Regions from separate parts of the Homo sapiens genome. Here all the other regions are linked to region 5. Evidence: promoter capture Hi-C in 16 types of primary human blood cells and fetal thymus (Javierre and others, 2016). All regions are on one chromosome and are shown on one strand. Each heading gives the region's core, a stretch centred on a gene start or on the middle of the fragment in contact. The rest is flanking DNA. Distances are from core to core; before and after follow the strand shown. Region 1 overlaps FLRT2 (fibronectin leucine rich transmembrane protein 2). Region 2 overlaps LINC02328 (long intergenic non-protein coding RNA 2328). Region 3 has its middle 8.3 kb from the start of CALM1. Region 4 overlaps CALM1 (calmodulin 1). Region 5 holds the start of GALC (galactosylceramidase).

The links. The method cuts DNA at HindIII sites, captures the fragments that hold promoters and counts their contacts. A CHiCAGO score of 5 or more calls a contact.
Region 1: a fragment that was not itself captured here is called in contact with the fragment with the promoter of GALC in region 5 in 1 of 17 cell types (M0 macrophages); the score reaches 5.7 in M0 macrophages.
Region 2: a fragment that was not itself captured here is called in contact with the fragment with the promoter of GALC in region 5 in 5 of 17 cell types (activated CD4 T cells, total CD8 T cells, naive CD4 T cells and 2 more); the score reaches 9.9 in activated CD4 T cells.
Region 3: a fragment that was not itself captured here is called in contact with the fragment with the promoter of GALC in region 5 in 2 of 17 cell types (total B cells and neutrophils); the score reaches 9.8 in total B cells.
Region 4: a contact is called between a fragment that was not itself captured here and the fragment with the promoter of GALC in region 5, in 1 of 17 cell types (total B cells). The highest score is 5.8, in total B cells.

The regions. Positions count from the first base shown.
Region 1 is chr14:85,578,345-85,583,192 of GRCh38, forward strand. All of the region lies in intron 1 of FLRT2 (fibronectin leucine rich transmembrane protein 2), which reads left to right. Among named protein-coding and RNA genes, the nearest start is that of FLRT2-AS1, 49 kb to the left of the region's middle. The HindIII fragment of the contact is 1,664 bases long and covers 1,807-3,470 here.
Region 2 is chr14:85,935,142-85,939,749 of GRCh38, forward strand. The region is part of intron 1 of LINC02328 (long intergenic non-protein coding RNA 2328); the gene reads left to right. Among named protein-coding and RNA genes, the nearest start is that of LINC02328, 2.8 kb to the left of the region's middle. The HindIII fragment of the contact is 3,745 bases long and covers 1-3,246 here.
Region 3 is chr14:90,386,488-90,390,948 of GRCh38, forward strand. No RefSeq gene overlaps it. Among named protein-coding and RNA genes, the nearest start is that of CALM1, 8.3 kb to the right of the region's middle. The HindIII fragment of the contact is 3,178 bases long and covers 1,097-4,274 here.
Region 4 is chr14:90,406,596-90,411,109 of GRCh38, forward strand. CALM1 (calmodulin 1) reads left to right here. Exons shown (of 6, transcript NM_006888.6): 6 at 1-1,673. Among named protein-coding and RNA genes, the nearest start is that of CALM1, 12 kb to the left of the region's middle. The HindIII fragment of the contact is 261 bases long and covers 2,698-2,958 here.
Region 5 is chr14:87,991,901-87,996,237 of GRCh38, forward strand. It overlaps GALC (galactosylceramidase), which reads right to left and starts at 1,282. Exons shown (of 17, transcript NM_000153.4): 1 at 1,070-1,282. The coding sequence starts at 1,264. RefSeq lists a silencer at 950-1,139 and enhancers at 1,095-1,595, 1,290-1,619. The HindIII fragment of the contact is 1,583 bases long and covers 263-1,845 here.

The DNA of each region.
Region 1 (4,848 bases), core at 1,389-3,888, 2.4 Mb before region 5:
CCAAAAAAAATCACAGGCTCACTATATTAACTAGGCAGTGTAAAAGCATATTGCAAACATTATTATCAGAAGAGAACAACTTTGTAAGTCTATAATCATTTTGAATACTAATGGCAGCAATAACAATGGTAACTGATGGGTGATAAACCGAGGACGGATGGCTAAGTGCTGTCTCGGAGAAGTCAGCTTATAAATCAGAGGCAGAGCACAGGGAAGGAGGACAGGCCTGACCTCAGGACAAAGCTTTCAACCCTGACACAGGCAAAGAAAATAGTCATCGTAGCATCGTGGGGAGATACGGGTTGAGTGATATAATAAACCTCTTTTAAGGAACTTTCTGATTTTTTCCGCATATTTACTTTACGTACCTCAACCCAGGGGGCATTCTTTCACCAAAGGAGTATTGCTTCAAATTGAATAAATGCACACACAAAAAAATCACAGGCAGCTCTACTGGATGGTGAAATATGGCTGCCTTGTCATGAGAGGAGTTAACTGAGTCTCATTGAGACCTGGATGGCCATCCCTGCTCCTCAAACCAGAAGGCACTCCAAAGGCTGGAGATGTCTTGCAAACTTGGGAAATATTTGAGCAGCAGAAACACATCTCTCCCAGTTGGAGTCTCAACCTTCTGATCCACCCCAGCACCCCTGATAGAAATCAGCTTTGGGAAAACACTTTGAATTCTTGTTTTGAGACGACTGGTGTCTGCAGTGAATCTCTGTTCCTCTCCCACCCTCCCTTCTGGATAAGGTCCTCCTTTCTGCCAGCCCTGTTGGACTTTTGTTTCTCCTTCCCCCGGGAGCTGCCTTTGAAGTCAGTGGGAGCTGTGCAGTGGGCTGGTGAGAGTGGGAGGCTGGAGTGGGGGAACCAGGCCCAGATGCAATCTATGCTGCTTACTGGGATTATGGGTTTCTCCTTCTCCTTCCTTTTTATGTATTTATTTTTATTTTGAAATGTGTGTCTTCTCTTGGCTAAAATAAAGACCGGGGGAATTGGTCTGGCTTTAAAGAACCCTCTGGAGCCAGCTTATTCATACAGAGTTAACTGTGACAAGTAGCCGCCACCAAAGCCACAAGTACCAGGATTTGGAAATTGGACATAAACCCATTTCATTTATGCTTAGGTTATTTGGGAGGGGTGGGGAAGGGCTGGAAAGTGTCGGAAAATTTATAAATGAATCCTGTTGTCCTCTCTTTTCTAGTATCTCGTTTTCCAGCCACTTGGAGCAAATTAATTTGCCTCTCAGAACCCCAATTTTCCGTATCTATAAAATGGAAATAAAATTCTTAGCCCATGGGGTTGTTTTGAAGATGCAAACACTGATATTCTTAAGCACTTTACATAGTTTCTGGTTCATTTTAACTGATTAATAATTTGAATTCTTTGTCATTATCAAGACTGTATTTATGAGATGGCAAGTTTCTACTGAATATGTAATAAGGGCTTACAGGGCAAAAATGACAGGGCTGTCTTTAAAAGCGATGCCACTGGGATACTAGTGAATACTTCTTTGTGAATATATCCACCAATACTCTAGATTGGGTCAGGGGTGGTCATTCCATGCACAGGGTATTAGAATTTTTTTTTTTTTTTTTTTTTTTAAATAAGTGGTTATCCAAAGGGGTTGATGCCTGGGTCATTTGGAGATTTGTCCTTGAACATTCTCCAGTCTGGCTTGGGTTGTCTCAGTTTTGTCACTCAGATTTGCATCTTGTCTTTCTTTCTGTTTTTAGTTGCTTGGATTTCTCCCAAAGTATTTGTGGCTGAAATTCCTTTTGGACTCTGAGCTGCCTTTTTTACATAAGCTTTGGATTGGAATCAATAGAATGTCAAGATGCCAGGCACATTCAGCCTAATAGCAGGTGGGTGTCTGCTGGACAGTGTGCCTGGTTTGCCTGACAGTAGCAAATTTAGGCCAGAATTAATGAGCCAGGGAAGGTACTGTTGGTGTTGCAAGATTTTTGCAGTTTTCAGAAGTAATTTTGTTTTTCCTTTTTAATGGGATTTTCAGAAGTTTTCAGAAGTAATTTTGTTTTTCCTTTTTAATGGGATTACATTTGCAAAAGAAGTTTGTGTTCATATATGTGCGAGTGCATGCATGCCCCTTTATTATAATACCTTTATGATGGCATCGAGGCAATTTATTTTTAGAAAATAGTATTCACACATACCTAAAAATCTGGTTCATAAACCTTAATAGAGTTTCGTTAAAGTTAACGGTTTGTCTTAGTCTGTTTAATGTTCAAAGAGAAGAAAACACCCAAAAGTGGAGTGAATTGCTGAAGTTTCTTGTGTACACTTATTAGGACATATTCCTGCTATATGATGAGCTATCATCAGAAAACAGTCAGCAGAAGCCAGGTCATGTGGGCTGGTGAGGAAAGGAAATGGGTGTAGAGCAAGCGTTCCTGTGTTTCTAGCGGATTGAGAAAAATGCCTGCCTTTTGATTTTCTTTTTCCTCTGGGGTTTTACTTATATATCAAGGAGTAAAAAAAGAAATCCCTCATTTATCTAGGTGCTTTTAAAGAATAAATGTGGAAATGCAAGTAAAGTACCTGGTGTACATCCTAGGCATTCCAAAAATAGTGGCGTTCTGGCTAATCCGAAGAGATTAGATGAGAAGTCCATAGTGATGATTCAGGTTTCTTTCATGTTTTATATATTAGCTGGCCTTTTTGTTTTTCTTATTCTTTATCTTGCAACAGGCATTCGCTTATTTCGGCTTTTAATTTCTAACATAAACTCAACTCTGAAACCCATGCCTTCTAATTGTTGACCACAGATACCCTTGAAATTTGCGCGACCGCCCACAGTGGGATGGTATTAAAACATTCTGATCTAGATTTGGGCAGAGGATGAATAAAATGGAAATGAGGCTTATGCAAATTAGCTTCCCATTTGTTTGAAGATGGTCGAGGGCAGCAGCAGTCCTTGAGTCTTCCAGATTTTAGAACAGAGCAAGCAGTGCTCTGAATGACAAGCCCTTGGCTTCACGTGGCTCATAACAGGATACCACTTACCCCCAGAGAAGACTGACCTCTATATTTAGTGGTCAAAGAAAGGAAAAGAATTGTTGGATGCTACCATTGAGTCCTAGTTCAAACAGTTTAGAAAACTACCACATCTCCACTTCTTGGAGCAATATGGCGGTTGTTCCCTTCCCCTAGGTTCACAGCCTGAGTCTTCGTGGGCCTTCATAGCACAAGTAAAAGAATATTAATGTTAGAAGTTGACTCCAGAATGGAGACTTCCATTTTCTTCTGGAATAAAAGATTAAATTATCTCTATAAAGTAGTAACATTATATACATTCTTACAAAGTTTGTTTTACAGTATTATTTTAAATTTATAGAAATGGATTGTATATAATGAAATTATTTATTTTTATTCAGGGAAAATGTGTATTTATTTATGGGGCTTATGAGATTGGTGCCCCAAAGTTCTTGACCCACGTTTCATTTGAGTAAAGCTTGGTGTAAGGTTTGGAATCATTTTGTAGTGTTATTTCTTAAGATCTTTCCACCCACAGTTAGGACATGTGACACATGTGATTCTATGTCATTTCATTTCAACTTGGGTCTTACTTAGCCTTTGAAAGGATGAAATCCTGACTCTGGTTGACAGCTGTGTCTGTAAACATGAATGCAGTTTGGTATTAACTTTTATCTTTCCATACAGTGAGGGGCATGGAACAGTACCACTAACAATGGGAGGTGCTTACATAATGTTAACTACCACTCTACAATCTGTGTGATATAGGAGGTTGAATCCATATGTAGATCCTGCTCTTAGATCCTGTAGATTGATGGTAAAGCAAAAACAAATGGAGCGTTGATAGAATTCTGTTGAGTAGCCATATGAGCATTATTCTGATACATATGAAATACAACCTTGTGATTATATGATATATGTGTTTGTATATGCATGCAGGGTGTAGTTGTGGTTTGTTTCAATTTAGGAACCTCTGTGAAAGTGACGGAAAGCTTGAATGGAGACCCTAAGGAAGAGGTAGAAATTACTTGTTCAATAACTCTTAGAGGTCTTTTTCAATACTACTAATTGATTGTGATTTGTACTTAGTGTTTGTTTGAGGCATTGTGGCAAAGTGGTCAAGAAGTCTAGAATTAGGCCAGTCAGAGTTTAAATCCTAGCATTTATTAGCATAGATTTTGGGTGCATTATTTATCCTCTCTGGGATCAGTTTCTTCATCTGTGTAATGGGAGTAACTGGAGCATCGACCTTATAATCCTACTGTGTGAATTAAATGAAGACATCTCAAATAAGGTGCCTGGTACGTAGTTAGGCACTCAGTAAACCATAGCTATTGCCATTATAATCATTACTATAATATGTATAATGGGAATAATAATTAGTCTATCTTATGGACTAATATAGTCCTTGTATGGATTACATATCTAGCTGTTTTTATTATTAATTTAGGATGACAGCACCTAATTTTGAGTGTTGTTAAGTAGCGGCTAGCAGAAAGGACCTCATTTTATAAGATTCTGTGTAGGTTGGAGATATATACATATATATCCAACTATATATATATATAGTTTTTACTATATATTTCTATAATTTTCTGCCTCATTGTTTGATTTCACAGCTCTGGAGGTTAAAGCTAAGCTACCTCTCCACTCTCCTGTCCCTGCCCTTATCTAAAATAGAAAGCCATCTGAAAGAAAAGAACCTAGGGAAAATTCCCATGTGAGAAATGAAATTGTCCTTGTGAAGGGTTAGGACTCTAGGAACTGTGTGCAGAAAATCGTTGAAAGATAATCTTTATAGGATGCTGAAAATTACTGGCAGGGATCAACTCTGAAGGTTAAATTGTCTCTGCC
Region 2 (4,608 bases), core at 124-2,623, 2.1 Mb before region 5:
TTTGCCCATTTTTTAATGTATTCTGTTTTTTGCTTGTTGTAAGTTCCTTACAGATTCTGGATATTAGGCATTTGTTGGATGCATAGTTTGCAAATATTTTCTCACATTCTGTAGGTTTTCTGTTTACTCTATTGGTAGTTTCTTTTGCTGTGCAGCAGCTCTTTAATTAGGTCCCACTTGTCAATTTTTGTTTTTGCTGCAATTGTTTTTGGGGACTTAGCCAAATTTTCTTTGCCAAGGCCAGTGTTGAGAAGGATATTTCCTAGGATTTTTATAGTTTGAGAGCGTACATTTGAGTCTTTAATTCATCCTCAGTTAATTTTTGTATCTGGTGAAAGGTAGGGATCCAGTTTCAATCTTCTGCATACTAACCAGTTATCCCAGCACCATTTATTGAATAGAGTGTCCTTTCCTTGTTGCTTGTTTTTGTTGGCCTTGTTGAAGATTGGATGGTTGTATAGTCACAGTTTACCTTGTATCTGGGATCTCCTAACCTCCTAAATAATTTTTTAAAAATTTTCATACATTACGGTTAAGTTTTTGTGCTCTAGACTTTTATGGGTTTTGATAAATGCATAATATCATCTATCCACCATTGCAGTATCATACAGAATAGTTTCACCACTCTAGGCAATCTCTTGTGCTTCACCTACTCAAATCTGTGTCTGTGAACCTCTAGAAACCACTGATATCTTTATTTTCTTTATTTTTTCATTTTTAGAGACAGGGTCTTGCTTCGTTTCCCAGTCTGGAGTGCAGTGGCACCATATATATGGCTCACTGCCACCTTTACTTCCTGGGCTCAAAGGATCCTCCTGCCTCAGCCTCCCAAGTAGCTGGGACTACAGGTGTGCACCACCATGCCCAGCTAATTTTTAATTTTTTTTGTAGAGCCAGGGTCTTGCCATCTTGCCCAGGCTGCTTTCAAATGATATCTTTACCCTCTCTATAAGTTTGCTTTTTCCAGAATGTAATATAATCATGCAGTATGCAGCAGTCCTTTCATGCTGGCTTCTTTCATTTAGCAATACACATTTAAGAATCATCTATGTCCTTGTACAGCTTGATAGCTCATTCTTTCCTATCTCTGAATAGTATTTCATTGTATGGATATACCAGAGTTTATTCATTTCTGTGTTGAAGAACATCTTGATAGCTTTCAGTTTTTGGTGATAATTTTATAAAATTCTATAAACATTCATGTGAAAGTTTTCTGTAGTTAAAATTTCTCAAATCATCTAGGTAAATATCTAAGAACCCAGCTGCTGGATTACAAGGTAAAAATATGTTTAGCTTTGTTAGAAACTGCTAAGTTATCCATCAGAGTGGTTGTACCATTCTGCATTTTCTCCGGTGATGAATGAGAGTTCTTGTTGCTCCTCATCCTAACCAGTATTTAGTATTAGCATATTTTGGTTTTTAGCCCTCTTAATACATGTACAATGTTATCTCATTATTATTTTAATTTTTATATACCTAATGACAACCAATGTTGAGCATCTTTACATGTACTTATTTGCCATATATATGGTGGTATCTGTTTAGAACTTTTGCTTACTTTTTAATTGAGTTGTATTTTATTCTTGAGTTTTAAGCATCACTCTGTATATTTTGGATGTATTATTTTTATTTTTTCTATCTTTTTTTTTTTTTTACCAGATATGTGTTTCACAAATATTTTTTTCTCATTCTATGGCTTGTCCTTTAACTCTCTTAATATTTCTCAAAGAGCAGATGTTTATAATTCTAATAAAGTCTTACTTTTTTTTCATGTATTGTGCTTTTGGTGCTGTATTTAAAAACTCATCGACAAATCTAAGATTCCATAGATTTTCTCTTTTCTTTTTCTTTTAGATGTTTTATAGTTTTTCATTTTAAAGTTAGGTACTTGATCAATTTCAACTTAATTTTTGTGAAAGCTGTAGAATATGTGCTAGGTTCTTTTTGTTTTAATTTGAGTATCCAATTGTTTCAGCACTATTTGTTTAAAATGTCAACATTTGCTTCATCGACTTGACTTTGAATCTTTGGGAAAAATGGAAACTACCATTGCAAAATTATAACTGAGACAGTGAAAGATATTTGACCTAACCAACTCCATTTTCTTCTAACCTCCAAGCTGTCCTTGTTCATTCCTCGGTGTAGGCTGAACTAACTTTGGGAGGAACTTAGTTTATAGTTTAAAACAAAAACAATAACAGCCCTTTCCCCAGACAAACCTCCTTCTTGCCTGGGGACTAGACTGCCTTTGTAGGACTAACAAATTAGCCACAAGATTAGAAATTATGGGCTGGGTGCGGTGGCTCATGCCTGTAATCCCAGCACTTTGGGAGGCCAGGCGGGTGGATCATGAGGTCAGGAGATCGAGACCACCCTGGCTAACATGGTGAAACCCCATCTCTACTAAAAATACAAAAAAAAAAAAAAATTAGCCGGGTGTGGCGGCAGGCACCTGTAGTCCCAGCTACTCGGGAGGCTGAGACAGGAGAATGGTGTGAACCCAGGAGGTGGAGCTTGTGGTGAGCCAAGATCGTGCCACTGCACTCCAGCCTGGGCGACAGAGTGAGACTTGGTCTCAGAAAAAAAAAAAAAAAAAAAAACAAAAAAACCCTAATCTGCTCTTAAGATCAGTGATTGAGATAAATTTGCAGACCCTCCCCTTGATGGATCAGCTGGCACCACCCAGATCAATTAACTGGCTCATCTGATCTTGTGGCTCCAGCCAGGAACTGACTTGGCCCAAGAGGACAGCTTCAATTCCCTATGATTTTATCCCCTTCCTGACCAATCAGCACTCTTGGCTCACTGGCTTCCCCCCGCCTACCAAGTTGTCCTTAAAACATCTGATCCCTGAATGCTCAGGGAGACTGATTTGAGTAGTAATAAAGCTCTGGTCTCCTGCACAGCTGGCTCTGCGTGAATTACTTTTTCTCTATTGTAATTCCCCTGTCTTGGTAAATTGGCCCTGTCTAGGCAGTGGGCAAGATGAACCCAATGGGAAGTTATAAATTCATTTGAATATATGTTTGGGCCTATTTATAGGCTCTCTGTTTTGTTCCACTGATCTATGTGGTTTTTTTTTGGTGAGGTGAGGTCAATGCTATGTGGTCTTAATCATTGTAGCTTTACAGTAAGTCTTAAAATAAGATAGTGTGAATCCTCAACATTATTCCTCTGTTCCTGCAGGATTGTGTTGGTTATTCTGGATCTTCTGCCTTTTAATTTTTCCTATAGAGGCAAAAGGAAAGCTTCTCTTCTGCTCTCTGAGGATTTGCTGCTGAAAAAAACTGACAATAGATAGATTAACAAAAGAAAGTCATATAACTCTATTAATGTGCAGAAGCATGGGAGCCATGGAAAATATGAGTCTCAAAGAAGGGCCAGATGGCTGCAGCTTAAATAACACTCTTCATAGGGGAGAGGGAGATGGGAGTGCAGGCAATTTAGAGTATAGGCAATGATGTTTAGAGAAATGAATTAGCCTAAAAAAAGACAAAGTTCTTTTGAGATCTGGGCGAGGTGGTGGCAAGTTATGAGAAGGTGATGAGATGTTCACCATGAACAAAATTTGTCTTATTATGCAGATAGTGTCCCTGGTAATCTCTTGGAGCTTCCCTCAGAAGTCTAGATGAAAAATCTCTCTGAGCGTGGTGATGACTTCAGATCTAGTCTCTTCTCCAGTGGTTAATCTTTCCCTGTTTTCTGTTGAAATTTCTAGGAAGTGTGTTTTAAGACAATTTCATGACTTCTGGAGGAACTTTTTTAATCAGATAAGGGAACTTGAGAGAAGGGTTTTCCTGAGGCTTCAATAAAGGAAGGGGTAAGGGGGGGCAGAGATTAAAGAGAGGCCATGGTCCTGAGGCTTATTTCTGAGGCCTTTCAACATTTTTTTTTTCAAAGCACTCAGCATGCCAAACTGCCATATTTTGGGTTGTCATTTTCTGAACCCCAATAAAACTTTAGAATCAGCTTATCAATATCTCCAAAATAGTGTACTAAGATTTTCTTTGAGATTCAATTGAATCACTTGAGAGAGTTTGGAAGAATTGTCATCTTAAGAATATTGAATCTTGGCTAGGCGTGGTAGCTCACACCTGTAATCTCAACACTTCGGGAGGCTGAGGCGGGCAGATCACGGGGTCAGGAGTTCGAGTCCAGCCTGACCAACATGGTGAAACCCTGTCTCTACTAAAAAAATACAAATTATCTGGGCATGGTGGTGGCTGCGTGTAATCCCAGCTACTCAGGAGGCTGAGGCAGGAGAATCGCTTGAACCTGGGAAGTGGAGGTTGCAGTGAACCGAGGTCACGCCATTGCATACCAGCCTAGGTGACAGAGTGAACCTCTGTCTCAAGAGAAAAAAAAAAAAAGGGAATATTGAATCTTTAAACTTGTAAATACGAGGCATCTCTCCATATATTTACACAACTCTTTGATTTTTTCATCATTGTTTTGTGTTTTTTGGTCTATAGATCCTAAATATATATGTATGGTTATATTTGTATGTGAATACTTCATTGTTTCAGTTTGGGGGAGGCTATAATAAATGCCTCTTTTTAAAAAAAATTATAAATCCCAATTGTTCTTTGCTTGTATGTAAACATGGAC
Region 3 (4,461 bases), core at 1,436-3,935, 2.4 Mb after region 5:
CTTTTCTGGTCTTTGGAAAGAGATGATGTCTTCTACCCGGCCTTGGATTTTTTTCTTTTTTGTCCTTCCTTTTTTTTTGGTGGGGGCAATTTTTGGAAGTAAATGTCACAATCGATCAGTCAATCTGAGTAGGCATGGTCTAGTCTGTCCTAAGTATTTTATATGAGTACCATTTGACAAAGTCAGAATTCTATAATGATTCTTAACATTTTTTTTTTTTTTTTTGAGATAGTCTCATTCTGTCACTCAGGCTGGAGTGCAGTGGCGTGATCTTGGCTCACTGCAATCTCTGCCTTCCGGGTTCAAGTGATTCTCGTGCCTCAGCCTCTGGAGTAGCTGGGACTACAGGCGTGTGCCACCACACCTAGCTAATTTTTGTATTTTTTGTAGAGATGGAGTTTCACCACGTTGGTCAGGCTGGTCTCGAACTCCTAGCCTCAAGTGATCCACCCGTCTTGGCCTCCCAAAGGGCTGTGATTACAGGCGTGAGCTGCCATGCCAGGCAGATTTTTAACACTTCTAAAAAGTTGTAACTCTTGAGACAAGTCCACTGTGACCTCAGATGTATATACATCCACATCTCTAAGAGTCTCCTGGTTACTAGGGAATTCCGCACAAGTTCCTCACAAAATTCACAAGCAAGAATATTTAGAATCATGAAATTCTAAATCTGGGAAGAACCAGAGAAAGTCCATCTGGTCTAACTTTTACATTTTCCAGATAAGAAAACTAAGTCCCGAGAAGGGACTAGTTAGGGAAAGAGCAGGCTTTTAGACTGCTCTTTCCTTTGACCTTTGAAAACATTTTAATCAAAGAACAATCATAATAAGGGGAGTAGAGGAATGTTATCATTCACAGGGCTTCCAAGTGACTGTGGAAAATCTTGGGAGGCTTTGCTTTGGACTTTGTTATCCATTTAGGGACTGGCTGTTCTGAATTGTTCTCTGTGCTAGGCCTTATCTAAACCGCTTGCCTTAAATCTTTGACCTTCATTTAAATTGCTGACACTTTCCCCTTGTGAAACTGTATCATAATTTCTTCTGTCTTCTTTAGGCTAGCAGCATTTCCCTTTCTTATTCCCAGAAGAGCTCAGAGAAGCTTATTTTTTTAGATGAGTGATGCATAAAAAGGAATGTGGCTGCACAATTCTAATTATTTCATAAAGTTCTGAGGTATTTTTAGGGTGTTGCAAAGTGCTAATAAAAAATAATCATATTCATGGACATACAGAGTGGAATAATAGACACTGGAGACTCCACAAAGTGGGAGGGCAGTGAGGGATGAGAAATTACCTGTTGGGTACATCGTATACTACTCAGGTGACAGTCACACTAAAAGCCCAGACTCCACCACTGTGCAATATATACATGTAACAAAAATGTACCCTTTAAATCTATAAAAAATAAATCCTTTCTAGCCCAGTTTGCTAAGGGTTTTTTTTTTCATGAAGAACATTTATAATAAACTCTTTGTTCTGCATAAAAAAGGAATAATGTTTATGTCTTTATTTCCCATTATGTGACTTTTAGGCTGCTTTCTAAAATTTTGATTTCTTTTCTTCAGGTGGTTAAAACAGTATGATTGGACTTGTTTAGAGCATGGTGCTCTTTCACAGAAAGAGAAACTTGTTCCAAGGCTTCAGCAGTATCCTAACCCCCTAACCCAGCTGGCCGTCTAGCAAATATTCACAGCATACAAGTTTCGAAAGTCAGAATGGCTCGGTGGGAGCCTATGGTGTCACCATACGGAACACAGTTTGAAATGTGTGCTCAAACCACGAAGTATTCCCATATGCAAAGGTTCCCACAGGTCTCAATTGAATCTGTATAAAAAATTAAAAAATAAAAATAAAGTTCCCACAGGTACAAAGCGCAGAATACCTTTTCTCAGTTCTTTCCCCTTCTTTAGGACTTGAAAATCAGAAATGCCTCTAGTAGAATCTCCGTGTCAGCAGACCATTTAAAATATGGCTCATATGTTTTGCTGCTATTCAGTTTTAAGGTCATTTCCTAAGTTTCAAACTTTGTGGGAAACAGGTGCAACTGTGAACCTTCGTGTGGCAGGGAAGAGCTGGAGCAGTGAAACATGAAACTACAAATCAGTTCTCTGAGTCACAAATCTCTTGGGCTGCTGTGGAAGACAGTGATGACTCAGCAGAATTGCATGGGACTGGTGGAGGGTGAGGCGGCTGAGGGCTCAGTGCCCTGAGTACCAACCTGTTGGGGGTGCTGCCAAATGATGGGAGACCGAGTTGGATCTTCCCACTGCTGAGCCCTTCCGCAGACTAAGTCAGACCCCCTGACCTGGGTTCTGAATGGATTTCTGACCCACCCATTGCCATTTAGCACAATGATATTTTAAATATTATACGCAACCACATCGTATATTTCCCTAGGGTTTGTTTATTACACTAATGTTACAGATGAGATAGCTGAGTCTGCCTGGCTAAGTGGCCAACGAATCAGCCATTTAACCTAGCAAATGAGATGCAGCAATATGGTCCTCTTCTTGGGAAAAAGCTATTTGCTTTGTCAAAACAATGAAAATAACAAAGCCTTGAGTAACCCTTCATCAAAATAAGACAAATTTTCTGTCTATGCTTTTTGGTTTATGAGAATGAGAATGAGAAGGAAGGTGACACACTGATACTCAGTTGTACAACTTGAAAACACTCCTGAAGGTACATCTTTTCAGTGGCCAAATGATTCAATCATCCCGTTGTGATGCCTGGAGTTGGTTTATTAGCCAATGACTCAGAGCCTCAACTTAGAATGAATAAAACTCAATAAGCATCTTCACTAGATTCAGATGGAGGTGGTTTTTCTGTTCAAAGACAACTTCCCTTTGACCATATTTTCTCCATTATAGGAAGCAGAGGATGGATCCAGTTATGTGAAAGTCTGAAGAAAATTGCCAAAGGATGGGTCAGCCAAGGTATACGCTTGCTCGTGACTGTAGAAGGATACAGGTTGGGATCAAAGCAGGGATAGTTCAGGATGTTCCTCAGGAGGTGTGGCCTCCCACCTTGCTTTCAGAATTAAAGCAAAGGACTTTCTTTTCCTTTTGTATTTTGAGAAATTCACTTTTAATATCCTCTTCAGTCCTGAGAGTGAATTGAGCTCAACACTAATCAATTAAATAGTTGACTGGTGTTTAATGAGTCAAATGCTATGCTGAGTTCAAAAAGTATATCTTGGCTTCTACTACTATCTGGTTGATGTTAGATATATGAAACGATAATATCAGGTAGAAAAGGACAAGAGGGGTAGGAATTCAGCGGAGAGGAAGTTCATTTGGAGTTGTGATAATCAGGAAAGTTTGAAACATGTTGCATTTAAACTGGGCATGAAGGACCCGTAGGATTTAGATAGGTGGTGAGGATATGGATAGGCATTTGGACACTAGGAATGGCATGGAAAAGGCAATGAGTTGAGAGGAGACAATGTATATTCAGGGGACAGAGACGATACTGATTTGTCTGAAGCAAAGAATGTATAGAATAACAAAGGATGGTAATGCTGAAAAAGTAGATTGGCAAACTGTTGAAAGGCATTGGGAGGCATTGAGGGTTTTTGAGCATGGGAGTGACATGATGAAACTGCTGGCAGCTGTGCATTGGATGGATCAGAAGGGGACAAGCTCATTGGGATAGACAAAGATCATGGATGTGCTATTAGAAATTTTGGGATCCTCAACATTCCTGATCCAGGCAAACACAGATACTTCCTTTTTTAAAATTTCTAGAATGGAGCTATCTGATGTAACTTATTGGAATGATGGAAATGTTCCATGCTGCCCAATATGGTAACCACTAGCCATATGGGCCTATTGAGCACTTGAAATGTGGCTATAAAGACTGAGGAACTCAATTTTAAATTTTAATTAAGTTTGATTTAAATAGCCACATGTGATTAGTGACTACTGGATTGGGCAGCACAGCTCTAGAAGGCAGGACAGAGGCTATTTATTGATTGAAAACCAAACCACACAGTTGCCAAATTAGATCTTAAGTCTGTTGGAATTGGTGGGGCCAATTCTTTAATATAACCCACAATCAGCATCAATTTACCTGATTTATCATTATGGTCTGGTTTTCCGTGTATCAAGACCTCAGCAACAGTACCCATTTGTGCCAATCACTGGTTCTGCTCTACAGGCAAACTGAGTCACCCCAAAACCCTGCCATTTCAGTTTATCGCTGTGGCCACATATCCCTCAACTGAATAGCTGTTAAATCATTTGTAAACTGCTAAATGTCTGTTGCTGCGTGGATAAGCTTTAGACCTGTTCTATGGTTTGACCTGCATTCTAGCACATATGTTGAAATATGAAGTTGCTGGTTATCGTTTGGATGCTAATTGAAGTTACTATTGCCCTTGCTTTCGGATTAATGAGGAAAATGATAGTTTAAGAATTTCCAGGCCTGGCTGGACACAGTGGCTCATGCCTGTAATCCTAGCA
Region 4 (4,514 bases), core at 1,578-4,077, 2.4 Mb after region 5:
ATTTTGTAGCTTGTTAGATTTTCTGCCAGAGGGGTGGGTCAGAGCAGTGGAGGGGAGACATCGCCCATGTGCTTCTGCTACTGGTCCTTGGGCTGGGTGGTTGGTAGAGGAGATGTTGACACTATGAGCTAAGGGTTGGCTTTTGTAATTACCTGAATCTGAAAGGAATGCCTAAGGTTACCTTGGGGTTTCTCTTCTGGTGAGATAGGGTTCCTGGTTTGAGTAAGTTAATGTCCTGGATATTTCTTGTGGCAGGGGGTGGTCAAAGAGCCTGATTGCTGACCCAGTCTCAGGCCTGTGGTCGATGACCTCTCGGTAGTTTCAAAGGGGGCTGGAGGGGGATATTTGACTTGTTTTTTCGAAATGTAGCCTTCTAACCCTCAAGTCTTTAGAAGCTGGGTGGACTCTTAGTGGTCCTGCAGCGTATCCTAAAAGACTACCTTTGAAACAGGATTCTTGTATGGCCAGGATCCTGTCTGGGAACCAGAAACCCTACACCCTCCCCCTCCAGGGAATGCTGAGTTCCAGTTTTGAGCAGAGGTGAGGCAGAATCCACTGTAGCCTTCCGCCCTGGTATTTGGGGGGATGACCAGCCCAGGCGTTGGGTGTTAGTCTGCATGAGTTTGTGAGAGGAAATAGCTGGGTGTCCTGGCAGTGCCCTTGAAGTTGGTTAGGACCTTCCTGTAAACTCTTGCCCCTACTTCTAACTACTCTATAAATATATACATATATTTATATATAAAGTGATTAGTTGAACTGGCATCCTGCTTTAGCCTGAGACTTGCCATAAGAAACTGCTGAGTACTTGGCAAACCCTTTCATAGTTTTGTTCTCCATCTGTTTGGGGTAGGTGTTGAGCGAGGCAAATGGATCTCGATATTTCAGATGGGCTTTTGATGCACTGTTGCCAAGGAAGGCTTTTTCTGATTTTTTGACAAATGAATTTTTGCACACTTTCATTGGTGTCTTTCGGCAACTTACACACATTGAAAATGAGCTATTGTACATATTTTTATATTCTCTTTATAAATGCATGTCTGATTGTACTTGTAACAATATTGTAATGAACGGCTGTGCAGTAGGCCCAGCGCTGCTGTGTCTCGTCAGAGGAATAGCTTACCACGAACCCCTCAGCATACTGGGAATCTCTTCCTGAACAACGAATGTAAATTTGGTCAAGTCTACTCTTCCGTTCATTCAATTATTTTAAGCATTTGAATTATTTATTGTATATCCTAAATATATTTCTCCTTTGGCAGTGACTAGATTTCCACTAATGTGTCTTAATCTATCCCTCCAGCTGGCAGTTACTGTTTTTTTAATCCCCTGAAGTTGTCCTGTAGGAGACAGAAATTCTTTGCTGTCTGTATCCCTTGGAGTAAGAAGGTAGTGGCATGGGTGGAGTGTGTGTTCTTTCTCCAAATCTATTATGATGTTTATTAAACACTTCTGTAGCAAAGATGGTGGTAGTTCTTTTGTTACTGAAGTTGCCCTTCACCATGGCTATTTGAAAAGGAGATGTACTTGGACGTTTCTGTAAATCTTGAGATAAACTGTTTGGAGATTTAACCACCTCTCTGATGGGGGACCAACTCTATGGAAATTGTAAATACGTTTTATTTATAAACCTGGCACTGTATTCAATAAACATTTCTGCAGCCTTTCATCTCTAACTGCGAACTGTGTAGGTTTCTAGCTTGCATAGCTTTCAATTCCTTTTGCTCTCAACAAGATAGACCTGCCCTCAGATGTAATTTCACTGGGTCTCTAGTACTGTGAGAGTGAGGGGCCAGAAATAACCGTAGACACATCCCACAACCGTCTTACCCTAGTTTTAAGTAGTTTGAGTGTTAATAGCTGACATTTTAACCTATTCTCTTAGCCTATTAACTTGTCCATGCTTGCTTTTTATGCGGAAAATTTACACCATAAGGATTAGTTTCCTTTTAACCCCAATCCAAGCCTCTTTAGGACTTGTATAAAGAAATACATTTTTTTCAATAAGATGGGAATTTTAGATGACAACCAAGATGATACCTTGGTTCATGTCAAGAGCGGGACAGCTGAGGAAAGTGGGGTGGGATGCAAGTACAATTTAGGACCTTGGCATTGAAGCCTTCCCCTTAGTCAACACTGGCCCAGACCCTGGTTCTTAGATGTAGCAGGAGAGGCTGCCTGCTTCTGCCCCCTTTGCTTCCAGAAAGGCCTTTTCCAGCTGCCTCGTGTGTTTCCCACTCTGCCCAGAAGGAGTGAGAGGGCTGAAAAGCGGGGCGGGATAAGGCCCTGCTTTCGACAGAAGGCTTGAGACACATCTCCAGAAAGCATTTAAAGAGCCCCTCCTGCACATAGGAGCTGGGACTATAAGGACATGGTCATCACCGTGGAGACGGCCCTCTGCTCTGAGGCTTTAGACCTGGCTTCTGGATTTGGTTCTGTCCCTCCAGCCTCAGGCAGGTTCTTTACCTTTCCCAGGCCTTGGTATCCTCCTTGGTAAGATCATATTGGACTTGGTACCTTCTGCCTGTGGCTTTCTAGGATTATGACCGACCTGGTTTGGCATCACTTTGTGTTTAGATAGATGAAATTGCAGCCTAAAGGATGGGAGGCAAAATTGTGTAGGAGTGCTGTGTCCTTTGAGATGACAAATGGGATTTAAAAATTCTCACCAGCTTCATGTTGGAGGTGGAGTGGAGGTTAAGCTTGCTATTAAGACGTGATGTAATATTGGAACCTGGGTCAGAGAAACTGATTGTTAAGTGACTTCCATTCTCCCAGGACGGAAATAGGAGGCTACCACTGGGCCTGTAAGGGATTCAGTCCAAGTGACATCATCTGGTTTTCAGCAGCTCCGGTTTAGAAAAACACACACACATTTCCGATTCAAGCTGAACTTTCCCGGGCACTGGGGGGCTGGAGCACCCAATGACTCAGGATGCCTTAGAAGGAAATAAAACATAAAGCTTTTTATAGCTTGGTGCTTCTCTCCCACTGCCCTCAACTCTCTGCCAAGGAGTGGGAGGAGTTAGCTCATGGACCAGAACTCCCATTAAAGCCCCTGAACTCTGATTAAATCAAGTGGCAGTTTTCCTCATGAGAATTATGTTCTTTGTGTCAGGAACCTTAGGAATGAGTGTGAATTGACACATTCAGATTGTGGGGTTTTTTTTTTCTCTTTTGAGGTGGGGTCTCATTCTCACTCAGGCTGGAGTGCAGTGGCACAATCACAGCTCACTGCAGCCTCCACCTCCCAGGTTCAAATGATCCTCCCACCTCAGCCCCCCCAGTAGCTGGGACTACAGGGATGTGCTGCTGTGCTCAGCTAATTTTTAAATTTTTTTATGCAGACGCGGTTTCACATGTTGCTTAGGCTGGTCTCAAACTCCTGGGCTCAACAAATCCTCCCACCTTGGCCTCCCAAAGTGTTGGGATTACAAGTGTGAGCCACTGTGCCTTGGCTCAGATAATTTTTTTTTTTTTTTTTTTTTTTTTTTGAGACAGAGTCTTGCTCTGTCACTCAGGCTGGAGTGCAGTGGTGTGATCTTGGCTCACTGCAACCTTCGCCTCCTGGGTTCAAGCAATTCTCCTGCCTCAGCCTCCTGAGTAGCTGGGACTACAGGCGCACACCACCACGTCTGGCTAATTTTTGTATTTTTAATAGAGACGGAGTTTCACTATGTTGGCGAGGCTGGTTTTGAACTCCTGACCTCAGGTCATCTGTCCGCCTTGGCCTCCCAAAGTGCTGGGATTATAGGCATGAGTCACTGTACCCAGCCCCAGATAGTCTTTTCAATATCATATCTTAGTTTTATTTTCAGTTTTACAAAGGCTAAAAGGAAAATCCAGAGTTTCCTCTAGCAATATAATTATTTGAACATTTTGTTACAACAAGATCTTTAGATCCTGGCTGTATGTAAGCATGTTTGCTTTTAAACTGATTTTTCATTTTGAGTCTTTGTATACCCTTCAAGTTGTGATTTTTTTTAAGTTACTGCATTTTTTAGCAAAAGATAGATTTTTTCCTGCATAGACATATCAGAATCAAGATTTGAGATAGATTGTTTTAAAAATGGAAAATAAGTAAAAAAGTAATTATAAAATCATATCTTAGTTAAAAGGAACAGGTCATATAGGTAAAACTTCCTCTGAGTGCAGGTATCCATATCTGGTGATTCTCAAACTTGGAATACTTCTAACACTGGACATCTAATCCTGTTTCCACAAGGCAGAACTTGGGCTTTCTCCCTTTCAATGACAAGAAGTTAATTAACAGCCCATTCCCATTTTTATTTTTATTTTTTTGAGATGGAGTCTTGCTCTGTCGCTCAGGCTGGAGTGCAGTGGCCTGATCTCCACTCACTGCAAGCTCCGCCTCCCAGGTTCACACCATTCTCCTGCCTCAGCCTCCCGAGTAGCTGGGACTACAGGCGCTCACCACCACACCCTGCTAATTTTTTGTATTTTTAGTAGAGACGGGGTTTCACCGTGTTAGCCAGGATGGTCTCAATCTCCTGACC
Region 5 (4,337 bases), core at 32-2,531:
ATGAAATATTGGCTGTTTCAGGTTTAGCCCAAAAACATAAAAAGGAGAATAGTAGTAGCAAAGAATAAATGCATTAACTCATCGGCCCACAGGTTTCCCCTGAAATACACATCAGCACGGCTGGAGAGATTGCAAATTAGGGAATGAAAACATAAAAATCAAAAAGGATCAGCTAACTCCAGGGGGAAAAAAATTTCCCCTAGCAGAAGGTTATATCTTGTGGTCACACTACAGACCAGGTCATCCTTGCAGCAGGCATTCAAGCTTGTTCTGAGTTGAATGTAAGGATGCAAGCTCCATCCAACTCAACCCCAAAAATCCGAGTTCAACCTTAACATTTTCAAGAAACATTAGCCCTAGATGTAATTTCGGATACAAAACCAAAAAACAAAAACCTTCTCACCCAAAGGTCGGCCACCATGAAGCCCATGGGCCCAGAGGGAGTACCCGGTAGTTTCAGGCCGCTCGCTTATCTTCCTTTTAAAGAGACCTTGAGGCACCAGTCCTGCCTCCAAACGAAATCCTATTCGGCGCTACCCTCTCTGGAGGAGCCCATTCTTACCCTGCACTAACAACTGCACGGGACTTAACGACTCCACCACCCACCAACTCCTCCAAAAGGGAGAGACACAGCCAAAGCATCCCACTGGGGCGTTCTCTTTCGCACACGGACGCTCCCGCACTCCCTGGCCCTTTCTGGAGCGACGCTCCCCGACTGCCATCTCCGCGATGAAGACAGCCTGTGCCCCACTGCCTGGGACGAGGGTTCCAGCCCCGGCTACTTCACTACTTAGACCTGTCACTTTACTCTCTGCACCTATACTCTCTGGACCTCCGGATCCTCATTTGTTCAAACCTAACTGCCTGTCTGGTTCGTGTTAAACGAGAAAGCACCCGCCCCAGCCCCGCAGCGGGCCCGCCCCAACCGCCTGCTGACTGGCACCCTAGGGGAATGCGGCGGAGAGTGGAGCCGGTGGAAACGCAGGGCAACGCCGCGGGGGCTTGTGGGGCTGGCCCCACGGGGCGGGCTCTTGCCGCCCCCCGCGTATCCCCGCAGCTTGCCGCTCACCCCGCCGCCGCTGACCGCGCCGATGCCGTCGAACTCCCGGCCCAGCCCGTCGGAGTCGTCGAGCACGTACGCGCCGCCGGGCGCCAGCAGCGCACACAGCAGCAAGGGCACCGCGGCGCGGCCCGCCGAACCCGCGGCCGCAGTCATAGCTTTCGCTCGGCGTTGCCAGGAAGCCGAGAGTAGCCACTCAGCCATTGTGTGGGTCACATGACTCCGGCGCCCAGGGAGGCGGGTCCCGTCGCCGCCACGATAGATACGGGCAGGAGGCCGCTGATGCTGACGCCGCCGCCGCCATTTTGAGTGCGGGTCAAGGGCCTCTGACGCAGCTGGCGGAGTGTTGAGAAAAGAAGCAGCGAGCTTTTTCTTATCGCTCGCGTGTCTGTGGTCAGCTACTGGATTTCACATGTACTTACTGCTGGCTTCTCTTCCGGCGTCACCTGGTGGAGCACTTTAACGCAGGGAAGGTGGATTCCAAGGTCCGCCAAAGGAAGAGGGCCATGAGTGGCCCTACCATGGCTCTTCCCCAGCATCTCAGGGAGTATCTACCTCGTGCGAGGACCAGGCTTGGACACCAGGTCCCGATTCCATTGTCATCTTGGTGGAATCACTTTGCTTTTGGAGCCTGAGTTTTCCCTTATGTGAGATGAGGCGAGAAGAGCAGCAGAGTGAGGGACTGAGAGAAAAGTTAATAAGCACTCAGTACATTTGAATGCATTCCACAAGTGGCAAATAGCTGAGAAGGTTCTCCAGTCTGGTAACTACCCCGGCATATTCAAAGCTTTTAGCCTTGAAGGAGTTAATAATATACCACCTCAAAATATGCTGCTGTGGCATATTGACTATTTTAAATTAAAGGCACTTAAAAACAGCAGGTGCAAGATCACTGTCATGGATATTATGTGTCTTAAAAGGAGGAGATGAAATTCCCATGTGAAAGATGTCTTCCCTATAAAATAACATTGTTATCTTCAAGGACAGAAAGTTGAAGTCGAGGGAAATCTGTCCAAACAAAATTTGTTAATCCCTATCTTTCTAGTCGCTTCTTTACCCCAAGCCCCTTCGCCTTATCATGTTTCACAACTACTATTTTTTGTCCATTTCACTCTATAAGCAATTGGCTCTTAACTGCTGCTTTAGGTCTTTTTTTTTTTTAATGAGGGCCCCCGTGCTATGTAAAATAAACATTTGTGTGGTTGTCTCCTGTCAGTCTATTAATATCTTAAATCAATTTAATACTAGGGCCATGCTGGGACCCTACAGGGACGAAGGTGAAATTTTGCCTCCCCTACAATTTTATAAACTATCTTCCACTGTCAGTTGAAGTGATTCCAGACAGGTAACTCTAAATTGGTAGGAAAGTTGTGAATTGCCCTGAATTTCTGCCACATCCAGCACTGTCCTGAGATTTCTGATTTCCTTGTTATTGAAGTAAATTAAAGAGACTCTGAAGAGCTGCAGAGAAAGATTTTCTGATCCCCAAATTTCTCTTAGCAGAAGTATGGAACTGGTTATCATTGCCTACACAAGCCCCTGAGATACCACAATGGCAAGGAAAAGACCCAGAGACTTTAGGACCTGTGGGATTTGTCTGCAGAACCCTATTTGGAATCTGATTATTTTGCCCCTTAACCACAAACCTAAATCTAAGTTTCAAGAACTCAATTATACTTGAAGGTCAAAGCTCTGGGCAATCCAATAAATATGCACATTAAGAACCCGATATCCCTGGGTTCTTAATGTACATTAGATATGTTTGTTCTTTCTTTCTTTTTGAATTGACTCTACGTCTATCCTGGTTTACTAAGGACAGTCACAACTTTTGTCTAAACATAATTACTGATAATGCTCCTTTCACCCTCAGTAGTCTTCTGGCTTGGATCAGTTAAATAGTCCCCTGTGTATGAACCACTTATTTTCTTTGGTTTCTTCTTTCCCCAGTACAACACGAATCTGAACTCTCTGCCTTGCCACTGCAACCAGTTTATGATGCAAGTCAGTAATTTTCAGTTCTGTGGATTTACTGTTACAGAATTCACTCTGATCCATTTGTTCTAACACAGTATTTTAAGCATGAGCTGGAGCTCCTGTGGATACAAGCCACAGTAACCATTCCATCAAGTGAATGTTAAGCTTCTCTTACCAGCTCTTAACAAGCGCATAAGACCCACTTAATACCGTGACTAGATGGGAAATACCAAGGTGATGACAGAGGAAACTACCTTACACATAAAACTAGGAAGTTGCATGACGATGTATGAATACCCAGCATACACCATCCTGTAGTACGTCATTGTGAAACGGGTCAGTGGTCAGTGGTCTCGTTGTCTGAGGTGTTATCCAAGCTTGTTGTCTCACAACCAAGAGAATTAAGGAGTGTGGACACCAGAGTGAGGTTGAAGAGAAAGTTTATTATATGAAAGAAGAAAGCTTTCTTTCTTTGCCATTTTGCCACTTTTACAGTTGAATCCAAAAGCTTTTATAAGAAACTCCTCTCATCTCTGTAGCTGTTTGTGTAACTTACTTGTAAAGCTATCTGTGCAGCTCCCCTTATCTGTGCAGCTGTGGGTATGTCTTGGGTAAGGATAAAGTTCAGCTTCTCTTGTTTGTGTAACTGTGGGTTCTAGGTAATCACCCTCTCCACCCCCATGCAAGTTCCCACAGAGCCCACCATGTATGTGCCTGAAAAGGGGAAGAAACTTTTTCCTGGGAACCTGCTAATCACACAAAGAACAAAAGGCTTCTATGTTGGGCCTTCCTTTCTTATCAGGGCAGCTGTTGCCTGAGTTTTCCCCAGGCCACTCTATGTGTGCCTGTAGCTTGATTTTTCAGGCTGTCTTTCTGTTTAAAAGAATTTTACCAAAGACCAACTTTAGCTGTCTGCCCAACTAAGTTTTCCCTTTTCTCGTCCCTCAATTGCACCTTGTAGTTGGAATGCACGCCACAAATATTTGAGCAATGTGTGAAGTCTACAAAAGAGGAAGCATAAACTCTAATGGAAAAGGTAGCCTCACTTCCAGGAAGTCCCAGTAGTTCCTATTAGTTCAGTTACCAAAGAAATTGCTTACCAGATAAATATTTTTTGTTTCTAATTTCTGATCTATATTCATGAGAGCAGACATGAGGTAAGAAAGTTTCTAATAAAAGGCCAATAAATACATGCTGACAGAAATCCTTGGAGTGCTGGGCACGGCACTCAAATGTGCTCAAGATGTGAGATAAAGAAAAATGACAGTTACCCCACGAGTGATCATATGCTTAGCTTCCCTTG